Linked DNA regions of Homo sapiens: all the other regions are linked to region 1. Evidence: promoter capture Hi-C in human tissues and cell types (Jung and others, 2019). All regions are on one chromosome and are shown on one strand. Each heading gives the region's core, a stretch centred on a gene start or on the middle of the fragment in contact. The rest is flanking DNA. Distances are from core to core; before and after follow the strand shown. Region 1 holds the start of LPP (LIM domain containing preferred translocation partner in lipoma). Region 2 overlaps LPP (LIM domain containing preferred translocation partner in lipoma). Region 3 overlaps LPP (LIM domain containing preferred translocation partner in lipoma). Region 4 overlaps LPP (LIM domain containing preferred translocation partner in lipoma). Region 5 overlaps LPP (LIM domain containing preferred translocation partner in lipoma). Region 6 overlaps LPP (LIM domain containing preferred translocation partner in lipoma).

What was found. The method cuts DNA at HindIII sites, captures the fragments that hold promoters and counts their contacts. A contact is called where the count stands out against the background at its distance.
Region 2: a fragment that was not itself captured here is called in contact with the fragment with the promoter of LPP in region 1 in 2 of the 25 tissues and cell types used here (dorsolateral prefrontal cortex and liver).
Region 3: a fragment that was not itself captured here is called in contact with the fragment with the promoter of LPP in region 1 in 1 of the 25 tissues and cell types used here (dorsolateral prefrontal cortex).
Region 4: a fragment that was not itself captured here is called in contact with the fragment with the promoter of LPP in region 1 in 2 of the 25 tissues and cell types used here (H1 embryonic stem cells and liver).
Region 5: a fragment that was not itself captured here is called in contact with the fragment with the promoter of LPP in region 1 in 2 of the 25 tissues and cell types used here (small bowel and spleen).
Region 6: a fragment that was not itself captured here is called in contact with the fragment with the promoter of LPP in region 1 in 1 of the 25 tissues and cell types used here (bladder).

The regions. Positions count from the first base shown.
Region 1 is chr3:188,152,588-188,155,913 of GRCh38, forward strand. It overlaps LPP (LIM domain containing preferred translocation partner in lipoma), which reads left to right and starts at 1,570. Exons shown (of 12, transcript NM_001375462.1): 1 at 1,570-1,665. It overlaps LPP-AS2 (LPP antisense RNA 2), which reads right to left and starts at 1,501. Exons shown (of 1, transcript NR_036497.1): 1 at 1-1,501. RefSeq lists enhancers at 105-1,005, 2,805-3,326 and a silencer at 1,438-1,777. The HindIII fragment of the contact is 14,765 bases long and covers 1-3,326 here.
Region 2 is chr3:188,599,821-188,603,146 of GRCh38, forward strand. The region is part of intron 6 of LPP (LIM domain containing preferred translocation partner in lipoma); the gene reads left to right. Among named protein-coding and RNA genes, the nearest start is that of LPP-AS1, 33 kb to the left of the region's middle. The HindIII fragment of the contact is 4,829 bases long and covers 1-3,326 here.
Region 3 is chr3:188,527,390-188,530,715 of GRCh38, forward strand. The region is part of intron 6 of LPP (LIM domain containing preferred translocation partner in lipoma); the gene reads left to right. Among named protein-coding and RNA genes, the nearest start is that of LPP-AS1, 40 kb to the right of the region's middle. The HindIII fragment of the contact is 4,035 bases long and covers 1-3,326 here.
Region 4 is chr3:188,482,331-188,485,656 of GRCh38, forward strand. It overlaps LPP (LIM domain containing preferred translocation partner in lipoma), which reads left to right. Exons shown (of 12, transcript NM_001375462.1): 5 at 2,262-2,374. Among named protein-coding and RNA genes, the nearest start is that of LPP-AS1, 85 kb to the right of the region's middle. The HindIII fragment of the contact is 5,601 bases long and covers 1-3,326 here.
Region 5 is chr3:188,452,692-188,456,017 of GRCh38, forward strand. The region is part of intron 4 of LPP (LIM domain containing preferred translocation partner in lipoma); the gene reads left to right. Among named protein-coding and RNA genes, the nearest start is that of LPP-AS1, 110 kb to the right of the region's middle. The HindIII fragment of the contact is 9,022 bases long and covers 1-3,326 here.
Region 6 is chr3:188,435,162-188,438,487 of GRCh38, forward strand. All of the region lies in intron 4 of LPP (LIM domain containing preferred translocation partner in lipoma), which reads left to right. Among named protein-coding and RNA genes, the nearest start is that of LPP-AS1, 130 kb to the right of the region's middle. The HindIII fragment of the contact is 8,829 bases long and covers 1-3,326 here.

The sequences.
Region 1 (3,326 bases), core at 320-2,819:
GAGTAACGTTTCTTAAGTTTTTGTCTGAGGTGTAAAGGGGGGACTACGCTCTGTCCTATCTAACTCACCTGAAGATGCAATAGCCGGGTGAGAGACTGCTTTCATTATGTGCTAACGTGAGGGATTACTTTAGATATTAATAGGAGAGAAGTGCAAGGAAAGGAAGTCTCAGGGTATGGAATGCTTTCCTGGCCATGGCTGCTGCGCGTCATAATCCCCTAACACAGTTAAGTGGTGGTTCTCATCGTCGTTCACCCTTACAGATGTCAGAGGGGAAAGAAAAATCCAACTCAAAACTTCCAATGACAGGCTTGTCTGTATTCAAACCAGTTCATCTCGTTCGCAGACTTTTTTGAAGCTATAAGCACAGAGCAAGCTTTCTGGGCGGGGCTCAGAAGTAAACGTTAAACTCCAGGGATTCATTTATTTGAGCACAGGACAGAGGAAGTTGCCCTGAAGCAACTGATTGTCATTGATATTCAGGGCTCGCTGTCAACCAGGACCTTCCAGGAACTGGCTCTGGGCCAAGAGCAGTAGAAATCACTGGGTGGTCCGCACAGCTCGCGGGCATCTAACCTGCTTCAAGGCTCAGGGCTAAAAGGGAGCCAGGGCCCTTCCTGGAGGCGGGAACCCAAGTGGGAGGCAGAGCGCCTGGGCCCGCTCCTCGATCTGCTGAGTGACGACCCTGTACAAGTCATTTCTCTTCCGAGAGCTTCAGTTTCCTCACGTGCCAAGCGGACGGGTTGGAAGTTGGTCTTTGCCAGCTCTGACACCTTGTAAGTTTTGAGTCTTGCTGGGAATCCAGGGCGGGGCTCACGAGGAAAATCTTGGAAGGGGATTTCATGGCTGGATCTCTTCCACTCAAGCTCAGTGCCCTAATTTGACGCCTTAATAGTAGACGCAGGCTTTTCCATTTTCCAGGAGCCCCCTGACGCGGCCGCTTCCTCCTACGTCTCCTTCCTCTTCCTCTAGCAGGGGCAAAGTCTCCACATCTCCCTCTTTCTCTTCCTCCTTTGCAAGCTCCCTGCATTCCCGCGTCTCCTCCTCTTCCTCCCAGGAAATGCAATGCCCTCAGTGCGCCCACCTTTTGGCAAAGCCACTGCCGGCTGCGGGTTTCCCCTCCCCCGCCAGGCGAGCTCTGCGCGGCGGCTTCGCGGGCACACGCCTTCCCATACCTTACATGGACAAATGCGTGCAGGCAAAGTCAGGAATTCAGGCCCCTGACGTCAGCCTCCAGCGCTCAGGGCACCGCACGGGAGACCAAGGGGAGGGGGTGGGGACGGTGGGGAGGAAGGAGGGGGAAAGGCACCAACCAGCAGCCGCTCCAGCCCTGCCGAAGTTTCACTTTTTGTCTGTGGGTTCGTTCCCGGGTCCCGCGCGAGCTTTCCCGGGATAAGTAGCTTTAGCGATCGGGAGACAGCCGGGCGCTGCAAGGTAAGGGCTGGCTGCACGGCCCGGGGCGCGGGGCGTGGGGCGCTGGGCGCGGGCGGCGCGCTCGAGGAGGCCAGTGTGGGGCGCGGGGCCGGGCCTGTCCGGGGCTGGGGACAATGGGAGGGGGAGTGCCCGGGCACCTCCTCCTCTGCCTCTGCCTCCGCCTCCAGCCGCCGCCGCCGCCGCCGCCGCCGCCACCACCACCGCCGCTGCCCCGGCTGCCTCCTCCCTGAGGTATTGTTGCAAATCCTTCCTTCCCCTCACCCTCCACCCGCGGGCGCCTCGGGAACCCCCAGCCCTCCCCCGGCGCGAGCGCCTCCGGGGTGGCAAGAGCGCAGGGCGCGCGCCCTGCTCTGGCCTGGCCCGCTGTGCGGAAGTGCCGGCCGCGGCCCAATCACGGGGTGCACGCCATGGGGGAGGGGGACCCAGAGTTTTTCCAAAAGCGTCGACCCCAGGCTAGGCGGGGTTGGAGCCTTGCGCGCCCCCTGCCCGGACTTTTCTGGGCGCCCAGGGGGCGGGGCCACGCCCATCCGCTTAGAGCTTTCGCGGAATCACAGTTGTCACAGCGGAAAGGGCCTAGACCCAGTCCTCCAAGTCCTCCCATTTTACAGTTGGGGCAGCTGAGGCCCAGAGAGAAGGAGGGTCGCCCGGAAGTTATTTACTAGAGGCCAGACCATAATTCAAATAGTTGGCTCCGGACTTAAGTTCCCTTTCTCTAAGCATTTCTCTAGCACCCTGTGTGTGGCAGACCCTGTGCTGGGTGTATTGGACGTTGCCCTCAAGGAACTCAGTTGAACCTGGGAGTCAAACCTGGCCTAGGGTAGAAAATGCTAAGTGCTGGAGCAAAGGCGTGGACAAAGTTAAAGGAAGTTCCAGGGAGGGGGTTTGATTTTCTGGTCCCTGGGACGGCCTTTTGGAGAGTCCTGCACTGAATGGGGTTTTTGGAGGTTGAGGAGTTTCCTGAAGCCAGCTAGCGGCTTGGAGGAAGACATCTCTTCGAGGGAACCGTGGGCCAGAGAAGACTAAGTAGTGTGGGAAATGGAGATGAAAGTATAAATATTCTTTAGTTGGAGGCAAGGGGTTGGGGATGGGGGAGGTTGTGATATGAGATGAGCTAATCAGTGGAATTGTGCCTGGGTGCTTGGACAGGGCAGAGTCTTTGGAACCTCGGAGTCGTAGGAGAACTGAAAAATCTCTCTGGCTTCCCTTCCCTTAGAAGGGATCCACTGCTTTCCCTCCCCCAACACAAAACAACTAGCGAGAACTCAGGGTCTTCTCTGGGGCTTTTGCTAGTACCAAACTCACTTAACTGTGTTTCCAGTCCCCTTTCTCTTTCCATTCCTTCCCCTTTTACTAAATCTCTTGCCTTTCCTGTAAAATTCACTCTCACTAAGGTGTTGATGACTTAATGGCTTACCTTTCCCTGCACATGTGCATTTTAAGAAAGCCTAAAGTGAAGAAGGGGAAAGTGTGGCTAGGCACCTTTACAAAGCATCTAGCTCCCTCTCCCATCCTCCCCCTTCCTCAACTCTTATAGATAGAAGAATAGGTAAAGGTCCACGAAGGTGGGTGCTAGACCTAGAGCCTATGGTCAATAATGGTGGACAGTGGGGGGTTAGGACATCCAATATGGTTTTCTCCACTTCGTCACCAGTTTTTCTGCTTGCACAGTTCCTGCCAGCACCAGGGGGCAGTTAAAGGAAAAAGTGTGTGGGCCAGGCACGGTGGCTCACGCCTGTAATCCCAGCACTTTGGGAGGCCAAGGCGGGCGGATTGCCTGAGCTCAGGAGTTAGAAACCAGCCTGGGCAACATGGCAAAACCCTGTCTCTACTAAAAATACAAAAAATTAGCTGGGTGTGGTGGCGGGGAACTGTAGTCCCAGCTACTCGGGAGG
Region 2 (3,326 bases), core at 367-2,866, 450 kb after region 1:
AAAATTAGTATTAGTAGTATATTGGCAGCAATGTTTTGAACTCGGTGGCACCAACTAAAATTGTGTGATTTTTATTTCGTGCATAATATTTGAGATTATTTTAACTCATCACCAGATTTCAGCTACTATTTATCCTCATTTATAAGGTTACTTTTTTTCTTTAATGTGGAAAATAAACAAAAACATAAAATGGAGAACAAAATTTTCTCTTAACTGCCTCACCTAGTGTAAAACTGTAACCTTTTAAAATACATTGAAACCATTTTTAATTTTCTGCTATGCTTCTTCCTTTTTTTGTATGTACATACACATGGACATTGGAATACCACAATATTTTAGAGTGTGTTTGCTTGGTTTTTAAAATAATGTATATATTTCTGATATATATTATGTTAAATATATATTTATTTTTATACATTTATATATAAGAAATGTATAATATATACTATGCCTATATAATATATATTTCTTCCTTTGAGTGAAAAAGTAATATGTGGTAGACACTTAGCAAAATAGGAAAAGTATATAGAATAGCCAAAAATAACCCCTTTAAAATAACCAATGTTATCAGTTGGGAATAGATCCTTCTAGCCATATATGTATGCATATGTATATATGAGATATAGATAGATGCATTACTTATCAACAGGTATAAAACAATATTTTCTAACTGAATTTTAAAACAAAGAAAAATTTTGATACATATTATTATTTTTATTATATAGTGGTAAAATATACATAATACAGAATTTCACATTCTAACCAATTTTAAGCGTATAATTCACTGGCACTAAGTACATTTACATTGTTGTGCAACCATCACCAGCAGAACTGTATCTATTCAAACTGAAATGACATATCCATTAAACAATAATGCACTAGCTACATTCTTCCTTCTCCCATCCCATGGCAATCACCATTCTGCTTTCTAGCTTTATAAATTTGACTCTTCTAGGGGCCTCCTATATGTAGAACCATATGGTATTTGTTTTTTGTTTTTTGTTTTTGTAACTGGCTTGTTTCTTCAAGCTTCAAGCTTAATCTCTTCAAGCTTCATCTATGTTGTAGCATGTATCAGAATTTTCTTATTACATTGTGTGTGTGTATATATATGTATAGATATATAGATAGATATAGATGTGTGTGTGTATATATATATATCACATTTTATTTATCCATTCATCCATCAGTGGACACTTGAATTGCTTCTTCCTTTGGCTATTGTGAATAATACTGCTATGAACATATTACCATGATTGTACAAATAGCTGCATTCCTGCTTTTAGTTATTTTAGGTATCTACCCAGAAGTTGAATTGCCAGATTATTGATATATTTTGAAATATTTTTATGGCATTGTTTTAATGACTGTGTAGTATTCTATTATATGACTATACTGTAATGTATATAAACAATCCTCATGTATTGATTATTTAAATTTTCCATTATCTTTTAGTTTTATAAAGTACACTATTAACACGGAGCTTCTTGAAACTAAACATTTATGCTCTCTGGTCATTTCCATAGGCTAAATTTTAAGAAATGAAACTATGGGTTTAAAAAGTATAAACTTTATTAGGGCTTTTGTTACATATCACCAAATTACACCACTGATTTCCCATAAAAATTTTATAGAAACAAACATTAACTTCGTCCCTAAATCTAAATTATATAATCAGTTTTCCTTCTAAGACAAGTGGAGTCACACCATTATGTCACTCATAGCCCCTAATTCCAAGTGGGATTTCCTGTTCGGCTTTAGCAACAGTATCTAAAAGTAGTTTTGAACTCTGGTTTTAACTGACAATCACCTGCCCCTTCCCTTTTGAATTTCCAGATTTCACTCTGTTGAGTGGGTTTATCTACAATAACTTGCATTTAAAAAGCCCTAAATGATTCTGTTGTGCAGTCAGATTTAAGAAATGCTTTTCTAAATGTGTGGTATTATGTTTATATATCGCACTCTTGGCCAGGTGTGGTGGCTCACGCCTGTAATCCCAACATTTTGGGAGGCCAAGGCAGATGGATCACTTGAGGTCAGGAGTTCCAGACCAGCCTGGACAACACAGTGAAAACCCCATCTTTACTAAAAACACAAAATGAGCTGGCGTGGTGGTGGGTGCCTATAATCCCAGCTATTTGAGAGGCTTTGACACAAGAATTCCTTGAACACGCGAGGCAGAGGTTGCAGTGAGCTGAGATAGTGCCACTGCACTCCAGCCTGGGTGACAGAGCAAGACTCTATCTCAAATATATATATATATATATATACACACACATATACATATACACACACACACATATATATAGCATTCTTAATCTCATATATATATAATATATATATAATATATATATATTATATATATATATGACATTCTTAATCTGTTAGGTTGTTTTCCAACTCATGGGGTCATCTATCAAGTGGATAGTGTAAGTGGCCTGGTTGGATGAGGAATGGAGATATGGGTACTTACCCTGAATTATGGAAGATAATTAGTGAGATGACTCAAGAAAGCAAATTTAGTTATTCTTCTAGTCATGGTTAGGATAAAATGATGATGTAATTTTTGCATAGAGCCAAAAGAAGCAGCAAATTAGGGATTTCATTATAACTGAAATAGGTTAGCTGTGTTTCCATTTTTGCTCATTGTACAAACTCAGAAACCAATTATATTTATTTATCCAGCCATTATTTATTAAGTGCCTACCTGATATGAATCCCTAATAATGAGACCAAGCTCTTCTTGGGCAATAAAACTCTGAATATTGCACATTTACTCTTGGAATCACTGGATTTTTGAGAGTCAGAGTATCTTCTTTTATAGGTACCTCGACCCCAGTGAAGCTCTTTTTTTTTCTCCTGAGTGATATAGAAATATTTTTTTATTTGAAGAGAAAGATTATTTATTAAAAAAAAAAAAAGGAGAAGAGTAACTTAGCATTTCCCCTCCTTTGTTGTTCAGATGAAGAGTCAGTCTAGAGAAGTCACGTGACTTTCCCAATGTCACTAAATTCTAAACAGTGGTAAAGCTGGCACTTTTTTTCTCGGTCTCCCAAGTTCCAGTGCACAACTCTTCAATTGCATGCTTCCTAGTGATACTTACATTTGCCAGTATCCATAACTTCAACTGGGAATTGTAAAGTGCACCTCATGCACTACAGGTGACCTGCAGAAATTGTTTTATTTCTCTTCCTTGTGTTTGAAATAATAATAATAATAATAATAATAATAATAATAATAATAATGAACACAGCTTTAAAGTCAGAAGAGTAATATTGGATTTATATTCCACATGTCAGCAGTGAGCTGGCATGGGATAGCAGCTG
Region 3 (3,326 bases), core at 358-2,857, 370 kb after region 1:
AGTTTCCTACAGACAGCGTGTAGACACGTTTAAATGCCAGATTATGATTTTAATCTGTCTTTTGTAGATAATGGGATTATTTGAAGGTTCTCAATCAGGGAAATCTAAAATTCATTCTGAAAAAGGAACATAGGAAATAAGACCAACTCTAGAATGATGCAGGAAATGAGCCCAGGTCAGAAAAATGTTCTCCAGCAAGCCACTCTTCATACTTTCTGACCATTGCTTGATGTTCAGCAATTTTTTTTGATTCCACCCAAGCAAATGCCCCAAATCTCATCTCATATCTGAAGACAGGAAGGCCACTGACTTTGCCACTGGACTCAGCAGTATCATGCCCAAATGCTTTTTTGTGCTCCCTTTCCTTTTTTTTTTTTGTAATGGGTTTTCACTCTGTCACCCAGGCTGGAGTGCAGTGGTGGGATCTCGGCTCACTGCAACCTCCGCCTCCTGGGTTCAAGCCATTCTCCTGCCTCAGCCTCCCAAATTTAGGGAGGATAGCAACAGTGTTTCTGGCTGCAGTAAATTTGGGGTAATGACTTTAGCTTACATCTACTTTATAAAAAATCCTCCATGACACTGCATGGATTTATGCAATTGAACTACCTTAATATTTGAAACTAAAATTTCTAAACATTTTAAAAGTGTTTGTCAGGGAGTAGTTTTAGAATAACAGATGAGAAAAGTTCAGACATATTCCTGTAGTGAATTGCAGATAAAATGTGAGCATAGAGTATCAGAGCTTTAGTGGGCCTTCCAGGTCATTTAGCCAAACTTACAGGTGTGTGCCACCATGCCCAGCTAATTTTTTGTATTTTTAGTAGAGATGGGGTTTCACTATGTTGGCAAGGATGGTCTCAATCTCCTGACCTCGTGACTGACCCACTTCGGCCTTCCAAAGTGCTGGGGTTACAGGCATGAGCCACCGTGCCCTGCCCCTCCCCGCCCCCCAGCTTTTTTTTTAAACGGAGCTTTCATTTAAATCTTTTTTTTCCTCCCCTAAATCCTTATAACCTAATAGACACTGAGGAGATCATGCTTTGAGGTCTATTGTTTAATACAACCTTTATTCTTGAAGGTTGTGTCTATACATGCCTCTCATAAACCATTGCATTTTAATAGGTTTATTCTGCAGCTACGTTTTGTTTGAGGAATCTTTCTGAGCACACAAATTCATCATCACTGATATTTGGACAGTACTGATTGTGAAGCACTTTCACATATATTCTCACTTGAGTGAGATATAGATATCTCAGTTCTGAGATGTGCGTGATGTGCTCCTTTCAGGGATGATGAAACTAAGACTCACCAAGAAGATTAATGGTTTCTCCTTGGCCATATGTTTGAGCACTGCGTGAGCACAACTGGACTTTGAATTTTGGCTTGTGCTTGATTTTAAGTTCTAAACACCAGATTGAGGGTGTCAGGTTTTGTCTTTGTTTTTGTAATGATTTTACCATCGATGAAAGCTGGCATCAGTCATCTGAGTGACACTGTCCCTTGAATGTTGCTTTCCCATAAAAAGAAAAACATTCAGAAGGTCAAAAAAAATTAATTGTAATAGCCATTAAGTAGAATAAGTTCATAATTATGGTAAAATACACTTTCGATGTGCCTGTTCCATTCAGAAATTAAAGGATGATCCATTCTAATTTTTTTCTATTACTATGATTTAACAAAGCAAGAGTTAATTGGGAGATATATCTCATCCTTTTGAATTATCTTCCCTCTGGTGGAACTGAATTAGATGTGTTAATATTTATTGGTTAACATAATTATAGGCTGTGAGAACAATAATCACACACTTAAAATATTAAAAGTATGTGCCAAGAGAAGATGATGTCTATAGTAGACGGTGTTGTGTTATAATTGAAAGGTACTTGAAAAGTCCTAGAAATGTAGACCGTTAATGCCCAACATTGATGTTTCTATTTTTGTTCAAAGCAAATTTCAAAACCTATAGAATCACCTGACTACTTAAAATAGGCTAGTAGGTCTGTGATTTCTCATTAGTCAAACATGTGTTGTAAGCTTTTTTGAATCCATGTCTCTATCATCTTTGGAAGGCTGCTTTGACTCATGGTCTAGGAAAAATGATATATATGTGGAATGTTTATATGGTAAGAGGTTCCAAGGAGCTCCATTCTCAAAACAAGTCTGAAAAATGTGAGCTCTTGAAAATAGGTTTTGCTAAAGCATTTTCTTCCTTTTATTCTAGGGAGTATTTTCCGCTCCCAAATTTTCTGACTTTAGTTATGTTCACTTACTAATCCCTATATTGATTTTGGAAATTTGGCTTAATTCCACATATTCATTGATTCATTGATTCATTCACCTAACATTTGATGAGATCCTCCTCTGGATCAGTCATTGGAGATTTAAAGGTTAGTATCAACAGGTCTTTCCTTTAGAGTGATATTTAATCTTACAGAAGAGATAAGCCCGTAAGTAACCCAAAGGGACACAGGAGAAGGGCTTCAATGTGCTACTTAAATTGTCACGTAAATCACCACGTGTCAAAATTATTGGGAGATAAAATACAGGAATACCAACATTGTACCTTATACCTTTCAGTGTCAGAGAGGACTGCGTAGAGCAGGCAGTATTTGAGCTAACTTGGCTTAAAGTGTTACGGGAAGGGCATGGGATTCAAGGTGCAAGAATAACAAGAGTGAGAAAGTCAAGGAACGTGGAAAGTGAATATTATTTGAAGAATAAGTTTGTCTAATGGGGTATGTAAAGTGTAAATGGGATTACTGCTGAAAAACTCAAACTTACTTAGCAGTACCTAAGTAGCCCTTTTGATGCCCAAGGGCTTTCATTGTTAGAAAGAGAAATTTACAGGGGGATAGCAACAGTGTTACTGGCTGCAGTGATTTTGGAGTAATGACTTTAGCTTACAGCTACTTTATAAAAAAATCCTCCATGACGCTGCATGGATTTATGCAATTAAATTACATTAGTGTTTGAAACCAAAATTTCTAAACATTTTAAATGTGTTTGTCAGGGAGTAGTTTTAGAAGAACAGATGTGAAAAGTTCAGAGGTGATCCTGGAGTGAATTGCAGACAAAATGTGATCATAGAATATCAGAGCTTTAGTGGGCCTTCCAGCTCACTTAGCCAAACTCTTATTCTACAGATGGAAAGCTTTTGCCCAGAGAGGGAAAGAACACACTCAAGGAGGCTCATTTAGAGACAGTTTCAGTGATTCTTTGTATTTTCCCCGAACTATGACACAAAGGCCCAGCTTGATGATAACCACGACCAGGGGAGAGTTTGGTTTCCTTTAGTATCACAATTGGTTTATTCCAAAAAGTCTTTCTTT
Region 4 (3,326 bases), core at 214-2,713, 330 kb after region 1:
AAATTAGGTTGTGAACAGCAACCTAAACCTTTTTTGCCTCATTGCCTAAGCTCTCATTGTGAGCACTGTTTTCATACATATGACCTTTAAAGGCAGTAAAAAACTTCTTGACAGTTCTTTTTAATTAACAGATATGAAATATTTTTTCATGCAGTCTGTGGCCAAATGAAAGTTTCTCAATCCTGGCTGCAGGTTCGAATCCCTTAGGTTTTATAGGTGTCCTGGTGCCTGACCCCCTCACTCCCTGTCTTCTATCCCCAAGATTCTGATTGAATTGCTGTGAGATGGAATTTGGACATCAGCATTTTCGAATGTGTTTCTTTGGTGATTCTGGTATTTAACCAATGTTTAAAACTACTGAATGGAATGCATACAGATTTATGGGATTTATAATTGTCATAAGGATATGTACAAATTATTTCCACAGATTTGTGCACCCAGAGAATAAGAGGAGTAGAAATTTTCTTTATGTTGTAAGTTATTGAACATTTCTTATCCTGTGGGTCTAAAGTAGTAACAACATGCAGTGGTTATTAAAGTGTGCTGTCAGACCCAAAGGCATCGATCACACAGGGATTTATTAGAAATGAAGATGGTTGGAGTTCTCCCCAGACCTACTGAATCAGAATCTCTGGATCCAGGACCCAAAAATCTGTATTTTAAAAAGACATTCCAGAGATATTGATGAACTCTAAAGTTTGAGAACCATCAGCTTTAAGGGTTGTTGTATGATTCGGTGGCAGTGTATGAAAATCTTAGCAAACTGCCTGGCATGGTGCGAGTCTAGTAAGCGGAGTACTCGAGAGATAGTGCTTTTGATTGCTTAGCAGTCTGAATTTGGCTTGGGGCTAGACCTGACAGTTCTTGGCTTAGCTACACTTTGAATTCTAAGACTGTTATTTATAAGGCAAATAGAGGCAAACTGAACCATTTCAAAGGTGTATCAGAACAACAAAACCTACTCACAGTCATTCTAATGTGCTCACTCTTCCATTCTTATACTTCTATTTCTCAGGGCCTAAACTGTGATGTTTTGATAATATCCAAAAGCAACTCACTTAATGATGGAGACTGCTGCCCTAACCCACAAAGTGTTGAGCAACTAAAATGCAAGGAAAGGCTACTCCTCCATAAATAGAAAAGATCTCTTCTCCAACACATCAAAAACATTATTTTTAATAGGAAAATAACAAATAAAGAACAGGTTAAAAGGTAGAAGTTTCTGTTTCCCCAATACAGTTTTTTGCAGACTATTTAAAAAGGTTTCATTCCAGGAACCATAAAGCTCTTGGATATATGTGTATAACTTAGATCACAGAGATCAGGTTCACTCCCTCAATAACTCTGACAGCAGTGTGCTTCTCTTGTTGGTAAGAGATGCTAGGTTTTTCTCGGTATCCCAAAGTCTCATTACTTCTTGCCTGGATTATGTATAGATTTCTAAATTGGGTGTTTCTTATTCATTTCTCCTAATCTGTCCTGCATGGACTTTTACATTAGTCTTTAGTAAATCGTATTGTAACCAAGTGTTTCTTTCTCAGAAATCCTTGGTGGATCTCTGCTGCATGCATGATAAAATTCAAACCCTTTTTTTGATGTGCAACATGTAAAAACCTTAATTTTATCGCATATCTAATCTTTATAACTCACTGGCATTATTTTACATTCCTGTGTCCCATGTTTTTCCTATGTCATGACTTGCTTTTTATTCTCTATGCTCTGAACTTTCTGATCGCCATGCCTACATTCTCCTGTCTCTCTACCAAGGATGGACGTACCTTCTACATCATGTTTCAGGAAAATTATATGATCCACTGAGACTTCCATGATCCTCCACTTTATCTTAATTTCCAGAGGTTATTCATGCATCTTTATAAATTACACCTTGTGTTATCTTTAGTTTTGTACAATTTTTCTTCCTCCTCTATTTGATTGAAAATGTATTGAGGGCAAGCACCAAGGTGTATAAAATTCAGTAACTCTATCTCCCACCCAAGCTCATTCTTCGCTTTGCTTAATATATTGACCCCTCTAGACTAGCTTTTATACCATTTCTAAATATCAAATCCGATACTCTTTCTTCTGAAAGTTAAGACTACTAATTAAGGCTACTAATTAAACTAAGATGGGGAATAATTGCTATACAACACAAAATTATGTGTCAAAGCCAATTATAAAAAAGTAAAATGCCAGCAAATATATCACGAGTACTATAACGTTGCATCCTTATTAACTTCATGTTGTTTACTTCTTTTCTGTAGGTGATTTTCTTCCACCCCCACCTCCACCTCTAGATGATTCCAGTGCCCTTCCATCTATCTCTGGAAACTTTCCTCCTCCACCACCTCTTGATGAAGAGGCTTTCAAAGTACAGGTAAGAGCTGAAGTTAAAGTCATGTTAGGTAAGAGCTGAAGTTAAAGTCATGTTTATAAGCCATCCTAGGGAGCTCATGAATTTCATGAGTGTTTCTGTGCTGGATAAACATTTATCCAGAGCCTATTGAGAGCTTTACAACTTATGAAGATCTAAGGTACTTTAATGCAACATACCCAACTCAAGCTTCCCAGAGTTCTGCTGGCTTACCCTCTGAAGCCCTCAAAATACTTTTGCCTACTAATTTTGTTTCAGATCCCAAAGCCATTTTTTTTTTAGGAATACTATTTGAGAAGGCAACATTTCCTTGTTATTTTGGAGGACATACAGCCATGTCTTTTTATTGCTATGTTCTCTATCTTCAAACATTGCATTCAAGTGAGTAAGGCTGACATTTTAAGGCTGTAGTTGGTTAATGTGGATCCTTTTGGTCAGCAACATTTTTCTAGCAAAAGCAACATCAAATATCCTTAGGATTTTCTCTTCTGGGTAAGTTCAAGGGTGCACATCATACTTATCAATTATATAGAACTCTTGGGTTCCAGCGAGTGGTAATTGCAAAGTAACTCGGGGCTGGGATCAGATGTGACATTAGAAGTGGTTCTCAGACTGTGATCATCGGTAACTGCCGAAAGCTGCCACCATTTAAGCTGAAGAAGTGCTTTATGTCAAGAAGAAAATCTAATAAAGTGATAGAATTATTGTTATAGTTTTAGGTGTGACTATGTTCGCATAGATACATTGAAGAAAAAAATGAGTCTTCTTTGTCTTTCAGAGAAACATTGGAAATGTTTGTAGATAAAATGGAATGGGCCGGGCGCGGTGGCTCACGCCTGTAATCCCAGCACTTCGGGAGGCCGAGGCGGGCGGATCACGAGGTCAGGAGATCGAGACCATCCCGGCTAAAACGGTGAAACCCCGTCTCTACTAAAAATACAAAAAATTAGCCGGG
Region 5 (3,326 bases), core at 466-2,965, 300 kb after region 1:
GATGCTTGTTTACTGGCTTCTGCCTAATTTTTGAGGCATGAAGTGGCCATCTCATATAAAGCAAGTAGTTCACATCCTGGGACTGAGACTACAACCTGGTTTCTCCTTGTCTTGTTTCGATGGAGTTATTCTGTATCCTGTGAAGAATCTCTGTTTTGTCATATTGTATTCCCTCTTTAAATCTTTTATATCTCTTTCTCGTACTATTTTGCCCCTGATGCTGTTTCTTTCTTTATTTTAAGCTTTAGATTCACCTCTTAAGTTGTCAGCCCACATGGCCATACATGACCATGGTTCTTACTGGTGTGAAGAAAGCAGATTGTAGCTGGTTGTTTGAGATGCCTTCTTAGGTGGACCAACCTCTCTCGGGTTCTTTGGTTTTATCTCTTGCTCTTCCTCTTGAATGTTTATGATACTTCCTGGTCACGTCATTTCTCTTTGACTCTTTCTTTCTTCCTTCCTTAGGTTCCGGATTCATACAGGTATGAATCTACTTCCCCATCTTTGCCAACCCTGGCATCGTGCCCCCTTGATTCCTTGGCTTTTCACAGGCTAGATGCTTAATGGACTCTGGAAGCCTTTATCTCTAGGACGCCTTTATCTGTAGGACTGGGCTTTTTTGTTTGTTTGAGACAGGGTCTCACTCCGATCACCCAGGCTGGAGTGTAGACCTGGGGTTTCTAAACACTCTTCACCTTGTGCTCAGCTCCTTGTATGATACCGACCGGATCCTATCCATGGACAATAACAATCTTGAATGTGTTCACAATGCCTGGGGGAATAAGTCCCAATCCGGCCAGGAAATGCTGATCTCCTTCCGACGGGATCTGCTTGTCTCACCTCAGCGCCAGTTGCTTCCCTTTACAATCTCTTTGCTGGCCAGGTTAGAACATGTGCTAATTCTCTGAAAACACACCATGCTTTCCTTCCTCTGTGTCTTTGCTTGAATGGTTCTCTCAGTCCAGAATACATTTTAAATATTTCTACTTCCACAAATCTATTCTATAGTATTTATCAAAATAGTACCTTCCCTATTAAGTCTCCCCTGATTCTTTAGCTGAAAGTTATTTTGATTTCCTCTGAGTTCCTGTTAATTTTGTGGGTACTTCTGTTAGGCTTCTTAGCATTCTACAGATAAGGAGATGGGACTTCGTTTAAACAGCTCTGGGCCACAAATATAGCATGTAGAACTGTGGAGATTCTAACTCACATTTTAACCTAAAATGCCATACTCTTTTTATCCTATTACATTCTTCTCATTCCATATATGTCTATCTTATGTAGTATGATTGAAGGCAGGGTGCTTGAATAAGGTGTAATGTTTTTGAATACTTAGCATATCCTAGGCACTGTGTGACATATTTTGCATTTATTTAATTTGGCTGTCATAAAATTTCTGCAAGGCAGGTACAGTTACTATTCCCACTTTACATATGAGGAAGTGAGGTATGGAAAGATTATGTAACTTGTCCAAGGTTAGGCAGCTAGCAGGTGACAGGCAGGACACCAGCTTAGGCAGTGTGGCATCACAGCCTATGCTTGTAACTGCCGTGCAATGCTGTAGGTAAGCAAGAGCTAACAATATAAGCCTGAAACTACTGGCTTTCTCAGTTGATGGTATTTGAGAAGTGTGGTCTATGATATTCCTCAGTAACTTTCATCCATGGAAAACCAACATATCTCATTTCTATAGGTTTTAGGATTTAAATATTTTTAAGGATTTTTCTGTTGTAGACTTTAAATTTACGATTTGAGATAAACTGAATGCTAAATCTTTCCTGCTTGGGAAGAATTCAGATGTAAAATTGTAATTTGTATTATTGGAAAACAACTCCAGTTTTATGCATTCTATGCAAGGATGAGCTATGTATTAGTTCATTTTCACGCTGCTGATAAAGACATACCCGAGACTGGGAAGAAGAAGAGGGTTAATTGGACTTACAATTCCACATGGCTGGGGGAGGCTTCAGAATCATGGTGGGAGGTGAAAGGCACATCTTACATGGCGGAAGCAAGAGAAAATGAGGAGGAAGCAAAAGCGGGAACCCCTGATAAACCCATCAGATCTCATGAAACTTATTCACTACCATGAGAACAGTATGGGGGGACCATCTCCATGATTCACATGATCTCCCACGGCATCCCTCCCACAACACGTGGGAATTATTGGAGTATAATTCAAGATGTGATTTGGGTGGGGACACAAAGCCATGACTAGAATAAACCACATCAAGTTACCTGCTTATCTAAAGTTTTAGAAGGTGTTCACAATGTTATTCGAAAGCCAACTTAGTGTAGTGAGCATTTGGAGAAGCATCCTTTATACAAGTGAGATGACATACATTGTTAATATGTGCTTTTATGTTTGTCTTTGCAAGATCTGAGCTAGAATAGAATCATAGCTCTAGGGCCAATTAGAGTGGGAGATAGTTTAATAGATAACACAGGTGCTATTTTGTCAAGTTGCATGGTTTCTGGACAGTTTACAGAGAAAAAATTTTTAGCTGAGAGCCTGATGAAGTCTTAAGGCTATTATTAATAGTAATATTTGGGGACTAGCAAAGTGCTCACATAAAAAGCACCAACAAGGATTAAAAAAAGAGAAGGTACTGACCAGATTCACTGCCTTCTATTCCCAAAAAGATTATTAAAAGGTTCATGTAAATAGAATATGCGCACACCCAGGAGAAAGTGATTTATTTTTAAGCTGAAGCCGAGGTTTTACACATCCCTGATAATAGGGTTTAATTAATGTTTGGAGTGAATAAAACACACTCAGAAGAAGTGTAGTCATATCCTTAATTTCCTTGATTGGCAAAGTAATTGATATCATGTGTGACATTTGAGTCAGTGCTATTTTATCAGTCACTTGCTCTCTGCGAGACAGAGACTGTGATTGAAAACAGTAGGTATGGGTACTTGATTTTAAAATGAACTCTATCATAATATACTGATTACAGAATCAGAAGGGCAATGTTGGTGAATATTTTTGGGCAAAAAATGACTGTAACCTATTCTAGATATGGTAAAACCAGCTCTCAGTACTTACCCTATAAAGAGAATATTGGTTTTTTTCAGAATTTTGCAGAGGGTCTTTTTACTTAGGGAACAAAGAGAACTGTAATTGTCAAATGTGGTTGTAAAACGGTAAATCTATTTTTGTTCATGGCTCATTCATTCACTTGGCATTTAAAAAAAAATTTTTTTATTTGTTTATTTTAGAGACAGGATTTTGCTGTCACCCAGGCTTGAGTGCACTAGTGCAGTCATAGCTTACTGCACGCTCAAACTCCTGATCTTAAACAATCCTCCTGTCACAGCTTCTC
Region 6 (3,326 bases), core at 520-3,019, 280 kb after region 1:
GAGGAAGGCTTTGCTGTGGACTTTGAGGGAAGGAAAATATTGATAATAATAGGATGTTCCGGGTAGATTAAATGTTGTAGGGAATCAAAGAATGGAGTCTTAATTGTCTCCTTTGAGTTCTGTTTTTTGACCTCATTGAACTCACAAGGGTTTACTTTTTACCACTAAATATTCCTATTATTTTATAGCTGTTTTTTCTTCCAATTTAACATGACTTTTTAATAATGATCCATTGCCCACATTTAGTGATAAGGTGAGGTTTGATTAAATAGTATTTGTACAGTACTACCTCCTACTTGGAGACACACGTTTATATAAACACAAGGTGTTATATAATTTGTTTCTCTGTTGGGGGGAGGGGGAAAGTAAATAAGGAAATATAAATTAATACCTGTTTTCTTTTCAGGATAAATAATATCTGAATATGTTTCTTTTTCTTTCTTTTTTCTTAATGCAGGCTTTATTTAGTTTGATTTTACCTTTAGAAATTTATAAACCATGGAAATACCCCACATTTTTGGGGATATTGGAAATAATCTCTGTGATGTCACTTTCTGAATCAGACTAAGGTTTGTTTATTACATCAGTTACAGGAAATAAGTGCATAAACCTGAATTAATCTGAGGATGTTGTGTTTGTAATGTTGCTTCCATTTTGTCCCTTTCCTTGAAGCTTGAGGCACTTGCACATCTCACTCAGTCTTCCTTTTCTCTACAGCTTTCCTGCTGTCCTAAAGAGACAAAAGGCATATGGCTTTCTCCAGCTGCATTTCCTGACCTGTTTCCTTGCCATAGATCGCTTCTAAAGCAACATTCCCACCATTTGAACTTCCATTCTTCCTCTGTCCCAAACCTAATATTAACAATAACAGGAGCCAATGCAATTTTTCATTATAATATGGTGTTTTACATTCATAGCACACACATTACTTTATTTGATCCTTGGAACTCGTGGATATGTAAATGGCAAGAGTTACTCTTCCATTGTGTAGATTACTAAAATGAAATATCTAGAGGTAATGTCACCTAGTACCACTGACTATAGTGTTGTGATACCAATACCAGAATAACAGGGCTCCTGACTTCTGACCCAAGGGAGATAAGGTGGATCATCTTAAGGTTATGGCTGATATATAATTGACGTTATCAGTTTTAGTAAATTTTATTTTACACGAAGAAACTGAGGCTAAAAGAAACGGAGCCACTAGTGCTTAGGGTGTCAACATCAGAATCAGATCTTTGATTCCCAGATTTAACATTTCCTAGATTCTGTGTTCTAATCATCTCAATGGACAGTGCAGATATTACTTGAGAAACATGTTTGCATTTCGTGAACAACTCCTGTTTATTTTCAACATTTTCTATGTATAAATAATGTTTGTGTAAGCATATATTTACTTAGGACCCGATATCTGTTCAGTACTGTTAATTGCCTTGGGAGAAAACAAAAGCAAAAATGTAAGGCCTGGGATTTCTATGCAAAAGGCCAAAAAGGGCTTTTGGTGAGATTTTAAAAATAGAAAACCAATTAGAAAATAATTAGGTGTATAGTGGTAGGCCCAGACTTGAATTTCAGTATGAATTTTGAAAAAGAATATATATTTTAAGGCCTACAAGGGCAAAAGTAGATGGGCTTTAAAGTTTGTGTAGGTAAGATTGTCTGTGGGTGAAGATGGGTAGTGGGATGGTGAGCAGGCAGAGTGGGGTTGGGGTGTGGGGTGGCACGGCCAGCTTTAATGGAGACAGGCGACTTCGATGGGGGGTAGGACATGAGGTGCACAGAGCAACAGTTTTCAGAGGTGCAGTAGGGATGATCCAGGGGATCAGAGAGGAAAAGAGTAAAGACTCTGCCAACCTTTCAGCCTGGAGCCTAGAGCCACAGTGTGAGTTAAAGATGTAAATTCCTTGGAATTAAGAACCATACCTTATTTAGCCATTTATACAGCTGCTTACCATGGTAATAATTAGAAATTAAGATGATGATCTTTTATGTGAGCAACTTTCCTAAATAACACTTGATGCTGCTGATAAATGAGACTTAGGTACAGTGCTTTTTCTGTAGGATTCAGGCCTAAATGGATCTAGGAGGATACTAGAGCTTCCGTTCCAAAGTACGTGCATTTGAATGATATGCTAAGTAATGCCTTGTGTATCCTTCAACAGGAAAAGTTCCTGCTATTAGGATAATTTGATATGCACTTGATGTTTGCTAATATGTTTCAATCACATAAATCCTTCTTGGATATTTTTGTTCTTTGTGGACTTCAGGTAAGTTTAAAGATATTCCACACACTTAAATATGTACACAAATGACTTTATAACAAGAAAGCAAATTTGTTTAAAAAACAAACCTACAATTCTGTCTCTCTAACACATCAACTCCATTTTCTCTGTACTCTTTTAGTCTTTGCCAATATATGTTTATAGTTTTCATAATATGTAACTAAAGATAGACATAATTTTGCATTTTTTTCACTTAATACTACAGAATAAGAATTCCCCACCATCATATTTAGCAATGGCATTATAGTTCTTGAAGTAAGCATCCCAGAATTTATTGAACTATTGCCATATTACTGGTCGTTTGTGTTATTTCACTGCTTTAAGTGTTTTTATGTTAGAGAACATAATGAAGGTCTTCATGGGTATAGCTTTTTGAGAAGCTAGACATGTTGAAGAAATTGGGAGCATGCTATTACTAGCTTCTATGAATTGGTATTTACTATGTATCCCTTTAATTAAATTCCATTCTGCAGTAAGTGTGATAGCTTTGCCGAAGCACTTGGGGGCCAAAAGGACATTTGTAACTGGTTAAGTTGGAAGATATTTATTTGTATAAGGTGGGTAGGGACAGGATGGACAGGCTATTTTTCTTGGCCACACTCACTGAATTTAAATAGGCAATGGAGATAAATCAGTTGTGGCCCAACTAGACTGCCTGGATATAATATCCTTTTGGACTGGATCATGTCGTTTCATTGCAGTCAGGATGGCTAAGCATGGTGATGGATCATAACTGACCAAACAGACAGGTTGGTTAGAATGTATGACCAGTCATAGCTGTGTAACTGAGGAACTGATTATATTCCTGTGACTAATGAAAAAGCCCAATCTTAGAGTAGCTGTGGTAATTATAATGAGAATACTAGTAAAACATTTTAAGGTGTTGTGTTCCAGACACTATTCCATGCATTACACACACACACACACACACACACACACACACACACACACACACACAGTCTCATTTAATCCTCATAATATTATGAGGTAGTGCTATTATTAATATCCATTTTCTGGATGAGGAAACTGAGGCCCCAACCAGTG